2 separate regions of the Homo sapiens genome follow, and region 1 is linked to region 2. The links are contacts of gene promoters, found by promoter capture Hi-C in blood cells and fetal thymus (Javierre and others, 2016). All regions are on one chromosome and are shown on one strand. Each heading gives the region's core, a stretch centred on a gene start or on the middle of the fragment in contact. The rest is flanking DNA. Distances are from core to core; before and after follow the strand shown. Region 1 has its middle 7.7 kb from the start of MSMP. Region 2 holds the start of TESK1 (testis associated actin remodelling kinase 1).

Region 1 (5,363 bases), core at 1,355-3,854, 160 kb before region 2:
TGAGGAGTAAATGCAAAGGGTAATAAGGAAATTTGGGGGCAGTGGTGGGGTGGTGACAGAGATGTTCTACATCTTGACTGGGAAGATGATTACACAGGTATATACATCTGCTAAAACTCACTGAATTGTACATTTTAAATGGGTACATCTTCCTGTATATAAATTATATTTCAATAAAGTTGAAAAAAGTATTTTGAAACAGTTATTTAAAAGTATTTTTTGTTATCAATAGTAGCTGGCCAACAAATCATTATAGAGATTAAGCAGCCCATTAGTAATATAAGGTTATCCTTGCTCCATTAGCCTTCTGAAACATACCGGAAGAATGAGTTCTCTGTCCAGTGGAAATGGAGGTTAATTTGTTATCCAATCCACAGGAGTTAAAGAGTGTGAATATGCACACTTCTCATCATTAGCTTAAGTCGAATTTTTAAAAATCAGACCAAGTGCTAAGAATTGAAATTAACTTTTTCCCAAAAGGATAATGCTTCAAAAGATCTCCATTGTGGGAAAACAAAACACTTCACTTCTTTTTTCTTCTTCTTCTTTTTATTTTATTTTATTTTCAAGACAGGGTCTCACTCTGTCTCCCAGGCTGAGTGTGGTGGCATGATCATGGCTCACTACAGCCTCAACCTCCTAGCCTCAAGCCGTCCTCCCACCTCAGCCTCCTGAGTAAAAAAAGGAAGTCCCTCTTCCTCCCCTCCTCTCTCTCCTTTCTCAATCTCTCTTATCAGAGTTAATGTCTGTCATCAGTCTGATGAGTTTTTTCTTTTCTCTTTTCTTTTTTTTTTTTTTTTTTTGAGATGGAGTCTCACTCTGTTGCCCAAACTGGAGTGCAGTGGCAAGATCTTGACTCACTGCAATCTCCATCTCCCAGGTTCAAGCGATTCTCCTGCCTCAGCCTCCCAAGCAGCTAGGATAACAGGCATACACCACCACACTCGGCTAATTTTTGTATTTTTAGTAGAGACAGGGTTTCGCCATGTTGGCCAGGCTGGTCTCGAACTCCTGACCTCAGGTGATCTGCCTGCCTTGGCCTCTCAAAGTGCTGGGATTACAGGCGTGAGCCATCGCGCCCAGTCTGATGTGTTTTCTTCCAGGCAATTTCTATATATCTCATTCTTGTTTTAAAAAATGCATGCATGTGAGATATAAATAGGATTGTATTATTCATATTATTATGTAACTTGCTTTTTATGGGCTGTGATTTTCTGTTTCTTTTGTATCTTCTTGTCATGCCTGATTAAAACTGTACACATGAAAATCTTGCCAAAGGTGAAGTCTAGGAATAGGGAGGGACTCCGTTAATCTCACTATTATATAGCCCATTAATTACTCATAATAGGATGGATTTAGGCTCTCATTCAGCTGAACAATGAGGATCCTAAAGAATGCTAACACAAGGTTAGCCTGAAAAGTTCTAAGAGATAGGGAGAAGGTTCTTAAACAGGGAAATCTCAGGACGAAAACAATGTTCCAAGAAGAATAAAATGGCAACAGTATATATAATATAGAACAGAATTAGACAGCAAGGAGACTAGTTAAGTGGCTAATACAGAATAGTAAATTAGAAGAAATGAGATTCTGGATTACAGTGGTGGCCAGTAGAATGGAGAGAAGCTTTCATTGAATTCTAACAAGGCAGACTTGTAGAGTGGAAGAAACAAAAGATTTGAACTAGAAGAGCTAGATTTGAATCCCAGCTCTGAAATTTACTAGCTGTGTGACCTCTGGCAAGACACTTCTTCCGTATCTCAGCTTCCCTTTCAATAAAAGGAACACCTTGAAATATCAGAGCCTTTAACTTTTTTTTTTTAACAGCAGAACTGTTTTTTTTTTTCCGTTAAAAAGAAAATCTTCAAGGAAGCCAGTACGTTTAATTTGTAAAACAAATAAAAGCAAGATTGTTCTGGTTGAAGCATAGGTAAAAGGGCTCAGAGCCCCAGCTAGCCTTCATTTCACCCTTCTCAGCCACTTCTGAGGCATCCTTCAGAAATCTCCAGAGGGCTGAGGAACAAAGTTTGAGAAATCTCTAAAGACTTTACTATCAACTCTATTATCAATTACTTGAGGGGGTAAAATTGACAGAGGTGCCTAGAAAAATAATAATGAATTTAATAGTGCCACAGAATCATATGACAGAAAAAGGGCGAATTGACTTTTCCTAAATCTGCCTGCTTCTCCTTGCAGGTTGAACCCAATTTAATGTCTAAAACCTCATCCGACCCTTGTGCAAACGGTCATCTAACCTCTATATGAACAATATGGCCAAAATTTACTGCCTAACAATTCAGTTCATTCCACTTTGGGGTCCTCAAATGAGTCAAAATTTCCTTATCAAGCCAAAATTTGTCCTCCATCACTAAATAAAAGTTCTTAATCTATCTTCTGGAACTAAACCAGTAAATCTAATTGCTCCTTCATCATGACAGTCCTTCAATTGTCTGAGGAGAGCTATCATGTCTGCCTTATTTCCTTGTATTCTCCCTTGCTCTTGCTCTGGCATGACATGAATATACCATGGAGGCAGCCTGCTCCTGTTTTGGATCAAGTTGAATTTTTTTTTTCAACAGAATCTCACACTGATCTCGGCTCACTGCAACCTCTGCCTCAGGTTCAAGTGATTCTCCTGCCTCAGCTGGGATGACAGGCATGTGCCAACATGCCTGGATAATTTTTTGTATTTTTGGTAGAGATGGGGGGTTTTACCATGTTGACCAGGCTGGTCTCAAACTCCTGACCTCAAGTGATCTGCCTGCCTCGGCCTCCCAAAGTGCTGGGATTACAGGTGTGAGCCACCACACCCAGTCAGAGTCAGTATTTTAAAGCATCTAAGTGCAAGTAGGTTTTCATTTATTTGTGGCTTTAAGGAAACTTAATTTAATCAAGCCAGATGATCCTCCTTTAAAAAATGACTAGCTTTGATAACTAAGTGTAAATAGAACCCAAATTCATTATTTGGTTGTTTTTGTTTTTTTGGGGTTTTTTGTTTGTTTGTTTGTTTGTTTGAGACAGGGTCTTGCTCTGTCACCCAAGCTGAAGTGCAGTGGCACAATCATGGCTCACTGCAGCATCGACCTCCCAGGCTCAAGTGATTCTCTCACCTGAGCCTCCCAAGTAGCCGAGACTACGGGAGTGCACCACCACACCTGGCTAATTTCTGTATTCTTTTTTGTAGAGACAGGGTTTTGTCATGTTACCCAGGCAGGTCTTGAACTCCTGGACTCAAGCACTCCATCTGCCTCATGTTCCCAAAGTGCTGGGATTACAGGCATGAGCCATGCACCTGGCCCTAAAAATATTCTTTTCTTACTGAACATTAGCTGCTTCCAGTGTACTAGAAGTAGATTGCCAAACCTTTTGGCCCAAAGCAAATTGTAAAGACATTTAGCTAGGGATGCAAAAACATCTAAGACTCAAGGTCCAGTGAAGCAGGCATAAATAACATAATAAATAAAGAGAAGCATCCTGATTCCAAAACTTGCATCTAACAACCAACTCCCAGGGAAATGTAGTTCTCATGATTACAAATTCAATTATCACCAAAATGACATGAAATATCAATGCTAGAAGGAAAGCTTCATTCATCATTCCTTATCCTACCCACCCCATAAATCTACTACCAGGTCTGTGAAATCAGGATCTGTGGCTTGGGCCTCAGTCTCTGCCAGTCTGGGTAGTTTTGGGGATGGGGAAAAGGAAGTATGGCTGAGTCCCTAAGGAGAAAGCAAGCCAGCATAATCACAGTCCATGATGCTTGTGGGAGCACTGAGCCTGTACAGTTTCCTGTGCTCCAGTTGTCTTGGTAACCTGAGGCCTCCTTATTTGTGTTGGCATCATGGGGCCAAAAGCGGAAGCAAAGCTGGAACACCAGGAAGACTTGCAGGAGAAAAAAATGTAGATAATGCAGCAGTTATGCCACAGGAGGGTCAAGCCTAGGGCAGAATTACCTGGTTGGGGGTGGGAAGGTAGTGTCTTGTAAAAATCAGATCTCTGGGTTCTACCTTCAGCGTTTCTGATTCAGTAGGTCTAGGATAAGCTCAGGAACCTGCAATTTTAAGAAGCTACCACCTACCAAGTAAGTCAAAGACCACACTTTTAAAATTCCAGCTACAAATCAGCAGTTGGGAAGAGAAAGTATAACCATTTAATCAATTTCAAAAAGCTGATATTCTAGTACAGTAATTCTATACACTGGAGTAGAGGGTATATTTTGTCTTCCAGGAACATTTGGCAGGATTTGGAGACATTTTGGTTGTCACATCTGAGATAATATCATTGGCATCTACTGAGCAGATGCTAAGCATCCTACGATGCACAGGACAGCCCCCCACAACAAAGGATTATCCTCCAAAATGTTAACAGTGTCACTGAGAAACTCTATTCATGAGGATATTCTGCTCTCCCAACAATGGCCCCCCACCCCGCCCATCAGCCCCAATCCATTGGAAATCAGTGCTACACAGTTTAGGTCACAATGCAGAGACTTATGCGAGATCCCCTGAAAAACTTTTGAGACCCCAGAAATCTTTTTTAAAATGGTGAATTTCATTAAAGAGATAGAAAAGGAGAAGATTAGAACTGACAATAAAGGAAAGTAAGTATGGGCAACAAGGGTGAACCAAAAAAGGGATCAAAGGAGGCTGAGGCGCTGAGTGACAGCAGCGGGAAATCAATGCTGCCCCTCAGTGGACGCAGCCCATTTGTAAAGAGATGATAAACCCATGAAAAATAACAGGCACAAAAAATGAAAAAAAAAAAAAAGGAAAAATGAATAAAGGAACTGTGTAGAAATAGCTTTAGGATTCATCAAGTGTAGATCTGGATGAAAAAAGGACATTAGAGATTCTTCTACAAAAGGATGCTTAAATAAAAATTCTCCAGCAAAGACGACAGGACTTCTAGAAGGAGATCAATAATTATATCAGAAAGGAAAAAAATTTTAAGTATTTACAACCCTCTACTCCTAATCACCCCCAAGATAGGTGGGTCCAGAAAAATGCACCTTGGTTTTACTGAGGAGAGATCATGAGAGGGAAGGGAAAGTGGAGAAGCAATTTCAGTTTCATAGCAAAGAATTCTTTTTTTTTTTTTTTTTTTTTTTTTTTTTTTTTGGAGACAGGGTCTCCCTCTGTCACCCAGGCTGGAGTGCAGTGCAGTGATGCAATCTCGGCTCACTGGAGCCTCAGCCTCCCAGGTTCCAGTGATTCTCCCATCCCAGCCTCCAGAGTAGCTGGGATTACAGGAACGCGCCACCACACCCAGCTAATTTTTGTATTTTTAGAGACAGGGTTTCACCATGTTGGCCAGGCTGGTCTCAAACTCCTGGTCTCAAGCAATCTGCCTGCCTCGGCCTCCCC
Region 2 (5,664 bases), core at 1,875-4,374:
AGAGACAGGAACGGCTTCACTCAGTGCTCCGAAAGAGGGTCTCTGAGTTTCCTCCCATCACCTGGGTCCCACAGGGCAGCCATGGCAGCTTACGGATGGGGGCAGGGTGGGGCAGGAAGGAGTGTGAGGCTCTTACGTTGCAGCAGTGGATGGCCAGGAGCAAGAAAGGCAGTGGGCAGTCATCCCCCACCAGAGTTCGGAAAGCAGGCACATCCAGGCCAAAGTCCTGTGGGGACAGAAGGAGGGACCTCCAAGTCAGCTTTTCTTGGGTTCTCCTTCTGCTCCCCAGTCAGAACCTCAACCTCTAGGGAATCCTCCTTGGTTATGAGCCAGCTAGTCTGGAATTCTTTCTTTGCAAACCTAGAAACATTCACCTCAGTGCGTGGTAGGTAGTCAGGGTCTGCAGGTACTCGGGCGATGAGCTCACAGAGGACAATCCCGAAGGCAAAGACATCAGCCTGGGGGTCAGAGATAATAGTGTCGGGGAAGAATTAACAGTTTTCATTTCAGAATTTTGACAGAATATAGCAGAATTTGGTTGAGGGTGGGGGATCTTGACAGTTTTCATGTGTTAGAAGGGTGCCTGTGAGGGGCAAAGGGATCTTGGGGACTCCTGAAGATCTGGTAGGGTTGTTTTGGGGATGGATGGGGCTTTATGAGAATACCTCAAGGGTCTCGGAAGGCCTTGGGGATCTGAAGGGTTGATGTCTCACCTTCTCATCATACAGCTCACCCCGTAACACCTCTGGAGCCATCCAGTATGGGGAGCCCACCACGGCCAATGGCTCCTTCCTTGCCCCCTCCCTGCAGGGGCAGGGGCAGAGTGGTCAGAAGCATCCTATTCAGGCATCCCCCCCAGGCAAAAGGGGATGAGGTGAACTCCCTCCGTTCCCCAAGGGAAACATCCCTGGGGCTCTGGGGACATCAGATAGGGGCACTCTGGGAGATTTGGGGGGAACAGGGACATTCATCTCACCTATACACAGGAATCTTTTCGGCCAGCCCGAAGTCACCCACGACAGCGGTGAAGCCTCGATCTTCCCGTCGGACTAGACAGTTCTGACACACACACACATAGTATCCCCACGCACTCATCACCTTCTGCTGTCTGGCCTCCCAATGTATAACCCAAAGCCCTGTCACTCCAGCATAACTCCAACCCTCTCTGCTCTCCCAGTTTTTCAAGGCACTTCAATATTGCAACATCATCCAACACTCCAAACACAGGGTGCTACTCAGTCCCTCCGAGCACTCCCCTCACCCTGGTCCCCCAATATTCTCCAATGCCTTGCCACTCCAACATCCTAATATATCTGTTATCCATATTCCAACATCCACAGGCCAGTTACAACCTAATAGCCTCAAACCCTCTTTCATGTCTCCACCCACCCTGCTAGCCTACCTTGGATGTGAGGTCGCGGTGAAATACACCTTTGGAGTGCAGGTACCGCAGGCCTCGGGCAATGTCCAGGGCCAGGTGGAGCCTGACCGGCCAGGACAGGGGTTCAGGGGAGCTGAGCAGCTGTTCCAATGTCCCCCCATTCATATACTGGTGCATAGGAGGAGAATGGGAATAGATGTCAGACTTCAGTCTGTATTCTAGGTCCCCCACTTACACGCTAGGGGACACTCCCGAGGATCACAGAGGTCATAGGGGTAAGACTGTGCTGTAGGACCCCCCCCATCCATGTTCTAGGATTGCCCCGTTCAACTCAATAGCCATTAGCCATGTGCAACAATTTAAATAATTTAAAAAATTTTTTAATCAAGTTGACCCACAAAAAATAATCTAAACAATGAAAATAATTTAAATTTAACCACATGTGGCTAGTGGCTACTGTATTGGACAGCACAGATAGAGAACATTTCCGTCACTGAAGAAAATTCTATTGGACAGCACTGTTCTAGGGGATACAGAGAATAAGACCAGTTGAGGCCTTTTATATGTGGTTTGCCTAAAGGAAAGTTCAGGAAAGCCTCCCCTGAGAGGAGATCCTGTTGCCTCTCACTAGTCCTCCGTAGATCCACCAGGCCTGTTGACTCCCTTTATCCTTGGGGGTGAAGGGGGGTGGGGATCCCTCCTTCCTGGCCTATCCTCACCTCTGTAAGAGCGTGCAGCTGTCCCTGGTGCACACAGACTCCCATGAACCTGCAAGAGGATGGGGAAGATAGAAGGATAGGCTATTAAAGGCCTCAGCTCCTCCTCAGTTCCACTTTTCCCGCGGGATCTTTCCCTTTCTCTCCCGCCCAGCAAGCTGCCCAGAGACTGGGGCCGCTCACCTTAGGATGTTGGGGTGCCTGAGCCGGTTCATCAGCTGCACTTCCCGTAGTGTGTTGCCCCGGTTACTGGGGAGCTTGTTCATCTTCAGCACCATGACTTGCCCTGACTGTCGGTGCCGAACCTGGGGGCAGGAGCAGCCGGCGAGGGCCGGGCAGGTCGGGCGGGTCGCCGGAGTCTGGACCCTCTTCCCCGCACTCCCGGCCCCCTAGTTTCAGCCTCTGGTTGAAGGCTCGGTCCCGCCCCTCTGCCCTCTCGGCCGGTCCTACCTTGTAGACCTCAGAGAAGAAGCCGGCCCCGATCTTCTCCGCGCAGTGAAAATCGTCCACACGCGCCAGGCTAGACACGGCGCTGCGGAGAGCCCGGTAGGAGGAGGGGCGGCCCCGGCCCGGGCCTCCGCCCGTGCCCCCCGGCCCCGGGGGCCCCTCCCCCGGCACCTCTCCAGGCCCGGGCCCAGGGCCCCGCAGTGGGGGCCGTTCCCCGGCCATGGCCGGGCCCCCAGCCCGGGCCTGCCTCACATGGCAGGGTCCCCAGGGCCCGGGCAGGCCGCGCTTGCCATGGGCGCGGGCCCAGCCCGATCCCGGGCGCCCGGACTCCGGCTCCCGCCCTGAGAATGGAAGATCCGCCGAAGATCCTGGACCCGCCCCCGCCGCGCCGGCTGGCTGGGCCCGGGTGGACGCCGCGCCGCTCCGCTCCGCGCAGGGCCTGGGCTTGGGCCTGGACCGGGCGGTGGCGGTGACGGTGGCGGCAGCGCTCCGGGGCGCCGGCGGGCTGGCTTGCCGCGGGCGGAGGCGGGCGGGCGGGCGGGCGGCGGCTGCTCCGCTTAGCCGCCGGGGATCAGGCTCCGCGGCCTGCCGGGGGCGGGGCTGGGCCGGGCCTCCGCTTAACTCCTTCCAGCCCGGCCTCCCGGCAGCGGCCACGCCCCCTCAGGTGCGCACCCCCGCCTCCCCGCTTTCCGGCCGCGATGCCCTGGGCCGCCCGGGTCAAATAAGCTCCGGCCTGAGCTTGAATAACGGGAGGGAATTAAGGGCTGATGGTGCGCATGCGAAGCTTAGCTGCCCAGGGAGTCCCCTCTCCTCCCTGGGTTACTGTCCGTTGAGGGTCGGGCTCAGAAACCTGCCGGATTCCTGGGCTCCAGGGACCAACGGGGCAGAAAGGTAGGCCCCTCAGGCCCAGCCGCAATCAGAGGTAGCCTAGCAACCTGTCCACCTTCCTGGCCTGCGCCCCGGCCCAGCCTGCCCATTTCCCAGGTCTCTTCGACTCCGACACCTTGAACCTCTGGCCTCCCTAACACCTTCTACCTTCACGGGAGGTTGTGATACCCCGGGGCTATAGGAAGCCTTTGGCCGGCCCATACCCAGCTTAGCCCCGACTCCTCCTCACTTCATCCTGCCGCCTCCCAATAAAGAAGAGAGTCCAGGTCCTCCGCCCTGTGACCACCCAGCCGGGACCTCCCTCTTACTACTTTGCCCAAAAGACTCTAAGAGAGAAGCCTCCACCTGCAGGGAAGCCCGTCCTTCCGCAAGATCCCACCCCCCTCAAAGAACGCTGTCCCTCGGAGACCCCTCCCTTCCTCAGTGAGACACCTCCCTTTCGGGGGCACTTTTCCCCAGTGTGGCACTGCCACCGTCAGTGTGTCAGAACCCCTCAGTGCTGCACCCCCTTGCTCTGTGTTCCTCCCACGCAGTGAGACCCCACCTCCGAGGAAATCCACTAGTCATTGTGACCCCTCCTCTCAAGGTGACTCCTCCCCTCAGTGTGACCCAGCCCTCCTCAGTGTGAGGGTTCCGCCCTCCACGTAGGAACACGGTCTGCCCCCTAAGGCCGGAGGAGGGGCTGCAACTGGCCTCTTTAAGTCGGCGCGGTGCCTGGGTGCGCACGCAGTCTCAGGACTCCGTGCACTCGCCGTACCAGACGCTTCCGGTTCTGCCGCTGGTTCCTCCTCCGGCCTCGGCGAAATAGCCAATCATCGCTAGGGTTGGGTGGTGACACGCGATCCCGGCGGTCCACTCCGGGGCAAACGGTTTAAAAGGGCGTCGTTGAGCCGCCTGCCACCTAGCGGCGGAACGGTGGGCGGAGGGAGAGAAAGCTGCCGTCTCGAGTGCGGAGGCAGGCTGAGAGCTCCTCGAGGAAGCGAGGCTGAGTCCTGCAGGAATTCTCAAGTACTGTATTGATATTTCTGTAGTAAGCTTAAAAGAGAATTAATACAAGCACAGTCCGTATCGCGTGGGGTTACCGTCTTCCAATGGAGTCTGGTTACACGTTTATGAGACTTGGAGCCAAGAAATACTACTCGCTTGTCGAGGGCTACTGAGAAAAGAATAAAGACGGTCATAAATGATACATGATGCCTTAGAGTCAAGAGAAGGCCAGATGCTGTCTTGGTGCGCTGTACAAGGGAAGGTATTGCACAAGTTTGGAGCGAGAGGAATGGGAGACATTCGCAATCCTTCCACAGCCGGTGGAGGCAGGCCAACCTCACAGAATTGCACGGGGCACGTGCATCCTGTTCTTTTTTCTGGAGGCGTTTGGTCTTCAGCACACGCTCATTCATCACATTAATGTTAACATCTACAACTAATTTGTGAATTTGCTTTTTATTGTATGACATCTGTAAACACTAGGAATTTATGCCTCATTTTGTTTAATATCATAGATCTTTTAACCGACACTGGGTTCTGGCCCTTTATCACGTTTGAGAATTACTGTAGTAGTTGGTGATGGTAATGCCAAGCCAAAGAGCCAGGTGCCTATTTTTTGTAAGATGATTGCGGTGGTTGTATGGAGGCCGGGAGACTGATTAGGAAGGAGGCTGTGACTGTGGTTCAATCAGGAAAGGATGAGACCAGCCTGGCCAACGTAGTGAAACCCCGTCTCTACTAAAAATACAAAAAAATTAGCCTGATGTGGCGAGCGCCTGTAATTCCAGCTACTCTGGAATCTGAGGCAGGTGAATCGCTTGAACCCGGGAGGCGGAGGTTGCAGTGAGCCAAGATCGCGCCATTACACTCCTGTCTAGGCGACAAGAGCGGGACTCTGTCTCAAAAAAACCTTTTGTTGTTGTTTGTATGGTGGAAAATGTCTTAACACACACACACAGAATAGAAAAATGAATGTTTATTTACCTTGGATTAGTAAGACCATTTTGTTGGAAACCCATAGTGCAAAATTGGCTTTCCTTTGCCTCAGTTGTACTGTTGCCATATTTGACCTGGCCCAGGTGAAAGTACCTACTTTCATTTACCCTTCTATGTCAGTGATTCTCCAATGAGCAATTCATGGCCAATCTTGTTTCATCTATACCCGTGCCCTCTTCCCCACTCCATATTTGTGTATATTTCTGACATATCATTTCATCCTGTAAATGTTTCAGTACGTTATCTCTA

Evidence for each region. Contacts are between HindIII fragments. The CHiCAGO score rates a contact against its expected background, and 5 or more counts as called.
Region 1: a contact is called between a fragment that was not itself captured here and the fragment with the promoter of TESK1 in region 2, in 1 of 17 cell types (naive B cells). The highest score is 5.4, in naive B cells.

What each region holds. Positions count from the first base shown.
Region 1 is chr9:35,759,322-35,764,684 of GRCh38, reverse strand. It overlaps a transcript of RGP1 not described here. Among named protein-coding and RNA genes, the nearest start is that of MSMP, 7.7 kb to the right of the region's middle. The HindIII fragment of the contact is 1,958 bases long and covers 1,626-3,583 here.
Region 2 is chr9:35,602,722-35,608,385 of GRCh38, reverse strand. TESK1 (testis associated actin remodelling kinase 1) reads right to left here and starts at 3,124. Exons shown (of 10, transcript NM_006285.3): 1 at 2,548-3,124; 2 at 2,281-2,402; 3 at 2,101-2,149; 4 at 1,403-1,549; 5 at 977-1,059; 6 at 714-804; 7 at 375-458; 8 at 137-226. The coding sequence starts at 2,766. It overlaps MIR4667 (microRNA 4667), which reads right to left and starts at 292; the gene lies at 227-292. RefSeq lists silencers at 2,259-2,518, 2,300-2,594, 2,529-2,698, 2,719-3,018, 3,049-3,298 and an enhancer at 3,779-3,888. The HindIII fragment of the contact is 3,621 bases long and covers 1-3,330 here.